Regions from separate parts of the Homo sapiens genome. Here region 2 is linked to region 1. The links are contacts of gene promoters, found by promoter capture Hi-C in blood cells and fetal thymus (Javierre and others, 2016). All regions are on one chromosome and are shown on one strand. The core of a region is centred on a gene start or on the middle of the fragment in contact, and the rest is flanking DNA. Distances in the headings are between cores, read along the strand shown.

What was found. The method cuts DNA at HindIII sites, captures the fragments that hold promoters and counts their contacts. A CHiCAGO score of 5 or more calls a contact.
Region 2: a contact is called between a fragment that was not itself captured here and the fragment with the promoter of MARCHF6 in region 1, in 2 of 17 cell types (naive CD4 T cells and activated CD4 T cells). The highest score is 5.3, in naive CD4 T cells.

What each region holds. Positions count from the first base shown.
Region 1 is chr5:10,350,351-10,356,423 of GRCh38, forward strand. MARCHF6 (membrane associated ring-CH-type finger 6) reads left to right here and starts at 3,345. Exons shown (of 26, transcript NM_005885.4): 1 at 3,345-3,567. The coding sequence starts at 3,549. MARCHF6-DT (MARCHF6 divergent transcript) reads right to left here and starts at 3,707. Exons shown (of 3, transcript NR_183261.1): 1 at 3,622-3,707; 2 at 1,188-1,423. RefSeq lists enhancers at 2,904-3,163, 4,010-4,581 and silencers at 3,304-3,443, 3,484-3,953. The HindIII fragment of the contact is 4,878 bases long and covers 1-4,752 here.
Region 2 is chr5:8,457,893-8,463,965 of GRCh38, forward strand. It overlaps MIR4458HG (MIR4458 host gene), which reads left to right. Exons shown (of 2, transcript NR_039989.1): 2 at 2,041-5,204. MIR4458 (microRNA 4458) reads left to right here and starts at 3,033; the gene lies at 3,033-3,107. RefSeq lists silencers at 5-54, 65-124. The HindIII fragment of the contact is 639 bases long and covers 2,214-2,852 here.

The sequences.
Region 1 (6,073 bases), core at 2,095-4,594:
TTTCAATTTCAACTGTCCCAAGAATATATTTTTTAAAAAATTGGACTGGGTGCAGTGGCTCATGCCTGTAATCCCAGCACTTTGGGAGGCCGAGGCGGGTGGATCACGAGGTTAGGAGTTCAAGACCAGCCTGGCCAAGATAGTGAAACCCCATCTCTACTAAAAATACAAAAATTAGCCAAGCATGGTGGTGGGCACCTGTAATCCCAGCTACTCAGGAGGCTGAGGCAGAGAATTGCTAGAACCCAGGAGGCAGAGGTTGCAATGAGCTGAGATCACGCCACTGCACTCCAGCCTGGGCAACACAGCAAGACTCTGTCTCAAAAAAAAAAAAAAGTGTGTAATATTTACTTCACAGGATTGCTATGGATGTTCATTGGACATAATAAGGAGTTTGGTTAGTTGTCATTGTTAGTTTGTTACAGTTACACTGTGTCCCCCTACACTTCCCCTCTTACTCATTGCTTATTGGGGTATGGAAAGCCAGCATTGCTATAGCATTCTCGCAGCACAGTACACACACACACACACACACACACACACACACACACGAGGCTGGAATCATGGGTATACTATGTCTTTAATAAAGGATCTTTCTTGGCCAGGCACAGTGGCTCACACCTGCAATCCCAGCACTTTGGGCGGCCATGGTGGGCGGATTGCTTGAGCCCAGGAGTTCAAGACCAGCCTGGGCAACATGGTGAAACCCCATCTATACCAAAAACAAACAAACAAAAAAACAAACCACAAAAATTAGCTGGGCGTCATATGCCTGTAGTCCCAGCTACTTGATACTCGGGAAGCTGAGGTGGGAGGATCACTTAAGCCAGGGTGGTGGACTGTTGCAATGAGCCAAGATCATGCCACTGCACTCCAGCCTCGGTAACAATGTTTCAAAAAAAAAAAAAGTATTTTTCTTGATTGGACAATGAGAATTCTAATTGTAATGGATATCTATTGTTTGGTCCTCCCCCTTCTTGTGGGAAACGGTCTTTCTCTACTTCCACAAGGTAGTGTACATTGTTCTTACCTGAAATGGCAGTTACAAGAACATGACAATGTCCATGTTCTTAAAGATCCTAGATCTTTGGCACAATCATTTGATTCACGGACAGGCAACTAGCTGGACCAATGAACTAGCCTTCCCTGAGAATTTTTAACTTGGGACTAGAGATCATCATCCTTACCTCGCCTGTCTGATGATGAGGCAGAAGATGAAATGTTGGGAGCTGTCAGTGGCCTTGTTTCCAGACATATGGAGGAAGCTGGTCTAACAGCATGAAGCCAATGTGCAGAGAGAGTTGCAGAGCTGAGCCATAGGGGCAGAGGCATTCTCGTTCTAGTAGTCCCAGCAGTCCCTCCCCTTCTTGGAGTCTGTCCATATCAACAGTACATTCCTCCCTTCTGCCTAACAGTTGAGTTCCTGTCAATGGCAACCAAGAGAGGTGTGACTGATTCATGTATTCAAAGGGCTGTTGTGAGAACTTGTGCCTGACTCACAGTGGGGACTCAACAAATGTTGGTTTATTACTCTTATATTTAACGCCTAAAGTCTGAATGCGAAAAGGTTAGGGCAATTCCAGAAGGAATTACTATGCAGAAGGGAAAACTGGTTGACAGGTTAACTTTCCTTTGAACATCACAAGGGAAGGCACCTAAATACAAAAGGAAGGCTTCCTCCACGCCCCCCATACACACACATTCCCTTCATCCTAACCTGGCTCTGCAGCTCCGAGGGTCACATACCTGCCCTTGGCACTACTAGTACTTCCTCCAGCAAGTCTCAGTCTTTCTTTCAGAATCCTTCGCCCTTATGCCATGTAACATCTGATCGGCCCGGTCTTTGCCCCTAGTATCAGCAGGCCAATACGTGCTCTGCTACAGGTCTTACAGGGAGGGTGAGCTCTTGGAGTTGGATCAGAAGGAGAGGGGCTGGGGAAAGATCGTCTTCAAATTGTTTCTTTGGCGGTAGTATATATAAACATATTTAGGCAGGGCATAGTGGCACATGTCTGTAACCCCAGCACTTTGGGAGGCCGAAGCGTGAGGATCGCTTAAAGACAGGAGTTGAAAATCATACTGGTCAATATAGTGAGATTGCAGTGAGCCATTATCGCGCCACTGCATTCCTGCCTGGGTGACAGTGCGAGACCCCTTCTCAAAAAAAAAAAAAAAAAAAGAAAGAAAAAAATCATAAGCAAACAACAACAAAAAAACAAATATAAAGAATGGCGGTCTGCTTAATTCTCCGTGCCAGCCCTTGAAATCAGTGGGTATTATTATGTAGAGTTTGAGTTCTTTCCTCCCTTGAGTAACATGAGTGACATCAGTAACATTAGTCAAGCGCTGCTCTTTTTGAAAGACTGTATTTCATTATTTTTATTCTAAACCTTACTCTGTTTGATGAAGATTGGGGGAAGAGCCCTCCCAATTCCACCGCTCACACATAACAGCGGTTGCTAGCATTCTTTATTTGTGCTAGGTCATCTGCATATTGTTTAAACATTTTTCGAGGCTGGAAAGACTGCTCCCACTCAGGCAATTCTGACGTGGCGGCCCTTCTAATTTATATTCTCTAAATAATTCTTCATTTAGAGAAAACAGTCAGGGATTACAGTGAGGGAGGGTGACGTGCTGACGGGGACAGAGCTTGGCTTTTGATCATTCTCCCCTTAGCTCTGCCCAGGCAAGCGTCCCTAACTCAGGGTATCGGAACCGATCTCCCTTAGAGGATTATGTTTCAACCACCAGCCTCAGCGGTTTACTCAAATGTCCTTCCAGCCAAATGCAGAAGTCTCCCTGGGAGTAATTTTGGTGAAGTCAGCTTTTGCCTTTTTCATCACAGGCAGGCTTTAGTAGTTCCTCAAAACGTGCACCACAACTGCCCGGCTGCCAAACAGAAATGCTGATGCCTGGGCCCACTCTAGCCATTTGGCCTCGGCATCACGGTGCGGGAGCGTGGGGCGCAGACTCGCATTGTCACAGGAACCTCCCGGCCTTCCGAAGAGCCCCGCGCCGGGGCCTTTGTCTCGCACGTCGGCTGGGGCGGGAGCTAGGTTCTCGCAGCCTCCTCCCACCGCTCTGCGCCTTCTTTGTCCCTCCAGAAGCCGCCATCAAAGCTCAGCTCCTGATTAGGTTTCGGCCCCGCTGGCCGGCGCAGTCTCGGCGACTACCCCAGGCGGCCTGGCGCACGCGAGGATTCGCCGCGCCCCAGATGCAGGTGCCTCCCCTCCTTAGCCGCCGACCGACAGTGCACGCCGCGGCCGCCGGAAGTGACAGCGCCTGTCGTTGGGGAGCTCCCGCCCCTTCCGCCTCGGCGCCCCGCCCAGGCCTCGCCCCTAGGTGTTCCCGCCCCTCCCCCTCCCGTGTCGCTCGCTTTCTGTCAGCCTCTCTCCCTCTCCCTCTCCCCTCTCCTTCCTCTCGCTTCCTCTCTCGCACCTGAGCGTACGCACCTGCCCGGGCCCGGCTCCCTCCTCCTCTCCCCTCCCTCTTTCCCCGCCCGGCCGCGGGAGCCTCGTGGCTGCGTCACCGCCGCCCCCCCAGACAAGATGGACACCGCGGAGGAAGGTAAGTCGGCGACGCGCGGCGCCCGAGCCCTTGCGTCGGCGCCCGGGTTCGTACCCCGGCCAGGTCCGCGGCGCTCGAGGTGGGCTGCTGGATCGCGGCGGGGCGGACGCCTGGGCCGTTTGTCCACCCGCTGGGCCTCTGGGCCGGGGAGCGGAAGGTGACCCTCTGCGCGCCCCCCGCCGTTTCCCGCCCGCGCCGCCGAGGGGGGCGGGGACCCTGCCGGGCAGGGGCCGGGGCCGGGGTCGGGGCCTCGGGGCTACTGCAGGCCGGCGTGGCCTCCCTTGTCCCCGCCGTCGCGCGCTGGCCCAGAAAAGGGGGCCTCTGTCGCTGCCGTCCGGGGGCGTTTTCCGCACCCTTCCCCCACTGGGTTTTGTCTTTCTTTACGTCCTTCTGCCTATTGCTCGCCAGGCCCTACCCCCTCGCGACAGAACTTCTTTGTTGACTTTGAAACTTCGCGAAAAATACCCCGCCAGATGACGGCCGAGTGGAGTGAGCTGACCCCTGTTGAAAAGCCTGGTCCTCGGCTTGCCTGCCGCTCGAGAATCTGTTTACTAAACGGGGAGGCTCTTTTGTTGCGATCCATTTGGTTTTAAATCCTTGACACCTATAAGCAGGGTTCTGTTTGTTTTGTTTTGCGATTGCTTGTGTTTTGGATACGGTTACATTGAACAAACTGACCCTTGTAAAATGAATACTTAAGATATAAACGTCCACACCTTATGTCTCTTCAAACGCATTTTCTTACCCACTGAAGGTAGTAGATTATTTTTAACCAGCTGTGTTTTTAAATGAGTGGTGAGTTTATAGAGGAAATTACTAAATTTTGCTTTTTTTGATGTTCCGGTTATCGTGCAAATGCTTTTCTACTTTAGGTATATTTATGGGGGTATGAGCGTCTTTCAACCTTATGGGTTGCGATTTTGGCGATTTTAAACGAAAATGAATTATCAAACGCCGTCATGGAGTGCAATAATGAGTGAAAAAAGTTTGATATTATCTATGTAATGAGTTGATAACGACTTATTTTTTTTTAAAGAAGTCTTGCCTTTAATAAATACCTCAACTATAACATGTGGCACTTGATGTACATTCGCGTTCCATCTTCGTAAAAAGCCTGTGGAATAGGTAGGTATTATCTTTTATAGATGTGGAAATGTAGGCTTCGTTATTTTAATAGCTTGTCGAAGCTTTACACAGGTAGTAAGAGGCAGATTTGAACCTAGGCATTCTGATTGCAAGTAATTTCCCTTTCATTATGCCACAGTGTGTTTATTATATACACTGAGTGTAGCTAATCGCCACTGGAGACGCCTTTGGAAAAAATAGTAAAGCGAAACTGCTGAAGGTTGCGAACTATTTCTTTTTGACAGGTGGTCCTTGCGTGTAAATTTCCATCTACATAGGTTTCACATCCTTTTAGATTCAGGTTTTAATGAGTAAATCTAGTAAGGCATGTATTTATCACAGGATAGGTACGGACGTATTACATTCAATTCTCATTCTTTTGGCCTGGGCATTGCTACTTGCATACTTTTATGGTGTGACAGTAATCTGTGGTAATTCAGGAATTGCGCTCGAAGCACGTATGGAATCATGAAATATTTTCACTGTACTTCTAGTGCTTAAATATATTTTTTCTCTTGTAAAATTATAATCAGGATAAGGTATACATAACATTTATTTATTGAACACTGTTGCCTGTTAAAATAACATGTGCTGAAGACTCAACGTGTAGTATGTGCTTTACTAAACACTTTATATACATTTCATTTAATTCTCTCACATCGTTAGGTAGTCGGCATTTTCATTTTACAGATGAGGAAACTGATGGTTAGTATGATTAAGTAACTTGTCCAGGATAATACAGGTAGTAAATGGCAGAGGCAAGATTCAGACTCATGTCTGTCAGAGTCGCACTTAAATTAGATTATTTATTTATGAGTGTATACTACAAGTCCAATGTTGAAATTTATTTTTGTCACTCCCTCTATAGGATGAATCATTTATATAATTTGGTGGAAACTTTATTTTGCTTTATTTTGTTTTATGAAATTATTAGTCATGAAATGCAAGTGAATTTTAGTGCCGTATTCTCATGCCTGCTTTTGCAAAATTCCAGTTTGGAAGTCTTCTGACATTTTTACAATTAAATTTAAGTTGAAATAACACTTAAAGGAAAAGGGAGGGTTATAGAGGATTAAAAATGATATAGCAAAGATGCCAAAAAACTAATAAAAAATGTTCTATTTGTGAAATCAGTTATTATAGGTTATTTCTTTAAAAAATGCGACTTAGGTTTTTTAAATCTGCTTAGAAATTTTTTGGTAGGAGATATTCAAAGTATGGCCAAACATAAAACTAAATTAAAAAAAAATCAGTATCACCTACTTTTGAAAACACTTATACTGTTGTGGTTCTGTTTTTTATTTATTTTATTTTATTTTATTTTATTTTATTTTATTTTATTTTATTTTATTTTATTTTATTTTATTTTCCGAGATGGAGT
Region 2 (6,073 bases), core at 1,283-3,782, 1.9 Mb before region 1:
GGGGGATCGCTCCGGGTGCTGGCTGCGGGCTCGGCGGGGAGGACCCCGGGAGCGCGTCCCTGGGCCCCACGTCGGCCTCTGCGCGGGCAAGCCCCTGGGCTCTTTGGCTCTAGACGCTTTCCAGGCCTGGGGAAACCGCATGCGTGGACGTGGGAAACGGGGCGCGTGACGGGGAGGGGCGCGCCCCGGGGGCCTGTGGTCGTTCCGAGCTTCCACCTGGCCCGACGCAGGCATGTGCCCTGCCCGCCGCGTCGTCCCTGGGCCTGCGGGGGCTGGGGCCTCAGCTGAGAGTCCTGGGAAGGTGGTGCTGGATTGTGGCTCTGTCGCGGGGATGAGGGGTTGATCTGGGAAGCCCTCAGGATGTGTGTGTGGCTCCTGGAAGGTGACGCACATTGTTAGCTTCAGTAAGGTTTTCAACACCATGTTTCCGCAGAACTTGGTCATAATAACTATATCGCCTTCTAATAGTGCTTTTGGGGAGTTACTCATTTTAACAGCTACTACGTGTTGAATGTCCTCTTGTTTGCCAGGTGCAGTTCTCATCCCTAGGGGTGGAGAGTTGAAGAAGATATATTCAGTTATTTTCTTTTTTAATGCTTGAGCTAACAATGATTTTATCCTTTGCTTTCTTAAAGGTTTAATTTGCTCTTAGGTGGACAGAAAAGCATAAACTGAATTTTAACTACAAGTTGGTCACAGTTGAAAAGCCTCATGTGTGGTTTGAGTTTTAGCTTAGATCTCTCCTTACATGTCTTTCCTGACAGCTCCTCAGATTTAGACAGTGTGAGGATCAAAACTGTATGAAGGTGCTTTACTCTTGATAATCTGTGAACGTCAACTAGGAAAATTTTGAGTGTATTAGAAATGTTTTTCGAACTCTTTGAGAGTCTAGGCAATTTCACTTGGGTTCTGTGATTAATTTGCAAAGTATTAGGATGAAATCAAGAAACCTGCAGTTTTAATTGAATTGACTTTGGTTTTGTTTCTCAAAAAGTGGGACAACAAAAATACCTACTTAAGACTACTGTTTCAGGCACTGTCTAATTGCATTCATCAGATCTTATTATATTCATTCCATGAGGAATCGAAGACCTATTCAGTCAAGCAGCAGCCCAAGGTTACACGTCTAATAAAGGGCACATTCCCAGATCAAGCCCATGTAGGCTGACTCTAGATTCTGATTTTGAACTGCTCTGTTTCTGAATTGGAGTTTAACTCCTCTGTTACCCCTAGATTAATGGTGAGTATTTTCTCTCACCCAAGTTAATTCCATTAACTCTAATCAGAACCCTAATTTAGCATATTTCCAGTACAGTAGTTGCGGATCCATCCTACTCTAGAGTTTTTGTGCTATGTGTTAACTGTCTTTTATAAATGAAGGGACGGCTTCCTCTGTAACATACGGGAGCATTGTATAATCTTTGAACAGGCAAAAGCATTCCAGAGAAAAGATAGATGAATTTCATATATTTTTATTAAAACAATTTTATTAAAACATAGATAAATACTGGATTATTTAAGCAAGTTGCAGTCTATGTAGGTTAACCACTAAGCTATGCTTCCTCTCTTTGCATGCGTGTGTGTGTATACGTGTGTTTTTCCTAAAGATACATCAAGGCTTAGTACTTTCACAATGAGTTAAGTCCTGCGCTGTGCCTTGAAAGATGAAGGGAGGGAGTTAGAGGCAAAGATGAATTAACAGGTTAACAGGATCCGGGTCCAAGTCCTTAGATGCCTATTAAAGAGTTCAGGCTTCACTCTGCGGGAAGTAGGAAGATTTTTGAAAGACTAAGTACTGGAAGGACATGATCAGGTTTGCAACTTAGAACTATCACTGTGGCTGCAGACCTAAGAGTAGACGAGAAGGGTGGGTAGAAAGGTTAGGAAACTACATTTTCCGAAGAAAAACATGGAAAGAACTGAAAGGGTGATCCTGGAGTCAGAGCCAGGTAGAGAGTTTAGGGATTTAAGGAGGATTTGGTAAGAGATTTATTGTGAATCCTACATCCTAAAATTTTAATGTTTTTTTTTCTTTTCTAGAGATGATAAATAGCCAAAGACGTCAATGGCACCCATGGACATAGTAAGCATAGTAGGAGCTGAAAAACTAGAAGCAATGACAATGTCAACTATTTTGAGCAAAAAGAAGCAGTGTCTTCGGAACATTTGATCATAAAACCAGAAATTAAAGGATGAGAAAAACATTTTTCTGAAGCTTATACTTTCACATTTCCTAGAGAGCATATTTGTGTGGATGGGGGTGGGTAAACACTCAACAAAAGTTTCTTTAAAAAGAAGAAACCATCCTGGTTTGATGTAATCAATGGTTGCCCACTGCTCCCTTCCTGTGCCTGTGACCCTTCCCAAACTGCCCTGTTGCTTGCAGGCTCGCCTGAGCTGAAAGGCAGCCCTCACATCCCGTCGGCACCTCCCTGGGGCCTTCTTTACACCCTGGAGAACTTCACAGGGAATCTGTGTCTGTAACACAAAGGCTTCCTGGTCCAGATGTAGATACTAAGGCTGACTGGTTATTTAAGTCCTGCGGACTTACTCTGCCAAAATTATTTAATCATGTAAAAATAATTTATAATTCTTATAAAGTATCCCCTTCATAATATAATGAATGTTGGTGCTATTACATTTAAGTGCACATGTACAGTATACAAGATTATTAATAATAATGTTTTCAAATAGTTATTGTCAAAGCTATTTTTCTTATGTTTATGAAAGTGCTTATAAAATTCATGTTTTATGAGGCTGGAGATGTATATTTTGTAATTTCATTCTGATATTTGTTAATATTCGCTTCCAATGCTGGTTTTGTTTGATGAGACTGACATTGCCTAATTTCAAGCTTTTTGAATGTGTATTCTTTCAGGGCAAGTATGAAATAACTAGTAAAAAATATACAAATATGCTTAACAATAAGTAGACTTTCTCACATTGATTACTTACAACAGCTTTATGTGGGGTGAATCAGATGCCTGTATTACAGAAGCATCTAATGCAAAGCAAAATAAAAACACTTGCATGAGCGCACAGAGGTAGGTGTGGAAGAAAGTGAAACACTATTTTAGGTTTTAGTTACACTCTGCTGTGGTGTGCTGCCTAGTATTTGCAGGTTAATGCAAATACTAGGGGTTATGAATTGTTTCTAAGTTTATTATTAAAAATAGCCTTGCTTCATTTCTTCCTAAAATGGAGACAAATATGTATAGTGTCTGTGTTACCAGTATGTGTAAGAGTAATATCTTAATGCGTGTAAAATGTTTATAGGAACCTGTATTTCAAAGAGCTATTTTTGCAAGTGACACTATCCTTTTAAGAAACTTTTTTATTCAAACTTTTTCCTCCATTTATAACTATTCTATTATTTCTTAATGTTCAGAACCCTTTTCATTATCTATAAGGTTAAATTTTAGGTAAGTAATGAGAAAATAATAATATGTGGAGAAGAAATGAGTGAGGAGTCGAGATGTGTGTCAATCAAGAATGAGTTTGTCAGCCCTTGTATTATGATTTTACTCGGGAGGGGATAATTATTGAAGGATGTAATGTAAGGGCAGTGATACTATATGGTATGTAAGACTGTTAAAATCACTGAGGTAAGCTATTACTTGAACTAAGCATAGAAATAGAGACAGATTTTTAATGCATTTAATTATCAAAATATCTAAATTAAAGATTTGATGTGGTTGTTCACTGGAAACAAATGGCAGACAAACAGAATATTTCTTGGAATCATAAATGACATCATCCTGTCTCCAACTTTCTGTGTAGCTTCTTTCTTTAGTTGGTCTTTGCTTAGATTTCCCTGTGTCAGAGACGACTTCCCTGGATATCAGTGACAGTTATTGATTGCTCATGCTATGAACTCCTCCCATTTCTCAGCCCTCTTGCAGTAGGTGGGGCCATGGTACTAGTTGTGGCTTATTGCTTAAAGACTTTAAGGCTCCATGTGTGACTTTCCAGCTCTGGTCCACTGCTACTGCGGCTCTGGCAGGACTAGGGAGGTGCCCCGTGTCTCAGATGGTGCAGCCTCCATCCAGCTGTGTCCCTGAATGACTAGAGCACAGCCACTGGTGACCTGTGGTGGACGTAGAATGTGGGTAAGAGATAAACTTATGCTACACCGCTGGGGTTCAGGGGCTAATTTGTTACCACAGCATAGTCAACCTTTTCTAGCACCCCATTCTGTCTAAATTTAGTAGTCCTACCCCACTCCATGCCTCCCCAACCCTTCCCCTGGCTTTAGTTTCTTTGTAGCACTGGTCCCCGCATGACCTGTCGTTGCTTTACTTTCTCGCATCACTTCTCCCTGCCTCCAGCACATGCACTAAAATTTAAACTCCATGCCTGGACAAAATCAATGTTTGTTAAATAAAGTCTGCCAGTTCTGTTTGCGATTTTTCAGAAACAAGGAAAGAAATCCTATATAAAGTTGATCTGTGCTTTGGCAATATTCATTTAGGGTAATTGCCCTTTTTTCAAATGGCTGTGCATTTTTTATGATGATGAATATAAAGTATTTAGCAGAAATATTTTTTATTAAAATTGTTGAGCTTATGGAATCAATGTAGCAGCCTATGTGAAAGAAACACTGTGCTAGAGAGTTGTCTTTCTGCCACGTGTAATCATTACATTTAACTCAAGTTCTCCATGGGAGATCCATGCAGAGATATGAAAATAGGACGGACGTCTCTTCCTTCTTAAAAGTTGCTCCAGATTTTGGCTTCAAGTGCTTCCTGTTTTTTGCCCTCCCTTATCCCTGGGAGTTCCCTCTATTTACTTTCACAAGGACTCTTGGTATAAAAGATATTTGTATACCTGGGTGTGTGGGAAGGAATTGAAGGCAAAGGTAGCAGTCATTTCAAGCTGAACATGTTAAGTGGTAATCGAGCACTTGGTTTTTGTAGTACCTCCTGTGGCCATCTCCACAGTGTCATATTTGAAAGAAATCTTGTGTAAGCATTGGTCTAAGGGTCACTGACTGTGAATAATGAATGCGGTGACAGCATGGCCATCTTAGAGACAGGCAGGCCAGATATTGGTTACTTTGATTTTAGTTGACAAAGTTTATTTGCTTTTAAGTTTTAAAGCAATACAGCAGTGTGAACTTCAAGTTGTAAACTTTCATTTAGAAAGTTTAAAATTTAGTTGAAATATAAAATATTCTGAATCTGAATAAAAAGTTTTAAAACTTATTCTTCCTTTTCAGTTGTTTTAAACACAAATGAATCAAGAACATGATTATCACCAATCATTACATGTTTATATTTCTGTTGTATACTGAAGGGAGTGGTGAAATGAATGCTGGAGGAGGATTTTGGTTGAGAAATTGGGAGGAGGAGGAAGTAGCAACTAAGACTGAGACGAATGGCCAGTTAGGAAACTCAAGAATATGAAACACTAGAGAACAATAAAGTGTTTCAAGAAGAACTTATGGGCAACTGAGTCTATTACAGTTGATAGGTCAAGTAGGAGGAGAACTGAGAAGTATCCATAGGATTTGACAGCATTCAGGTCATGGGGAATGAGGAGCTATTTTTGTGGAGTGGTAGGCACAAAAACCTGACATGGTGGTTGTAAGAGGAATCAAGGAGAAGGAGAAGCCATGATTATTAGGGGTATTTGAGTTCAAGACATATTGAGGCTGGGCATGGTGGCTCACACCTGTAATCCCAGCATTTTGGGAGGCCAAGGAGGGCAGATCACTCGAGCCCAGGAGTTGAGTCTAACCTAAGCAACGTGGCGAAATCTGGTCTCTACAGAAAGTACAAAAATTAGCCAGGCGTGTAATGTAGTCCCAGCTACTTGGGAGGCTGAGGTGGGAGGATTGTTTGAGCCCAGGAGGTCGAGCAAGCATGCAGTGAGCCATGATCTTGCCACTGCACTCCAGCCTAGAAGATAAAGTGAGACCCTGTATTAAAAAAAAAAAAAGAGAAAAAGACATTGAAAAGTAAAGTTAAAAATCTGTTTGAAGTTAGAGAGCTAAATAAGAATAATGAAATAAAGCCAGTAGAAGGAAACAAATGAGAAAAAAGCAGGCAATGACAGAATAGAAAAATTTTAA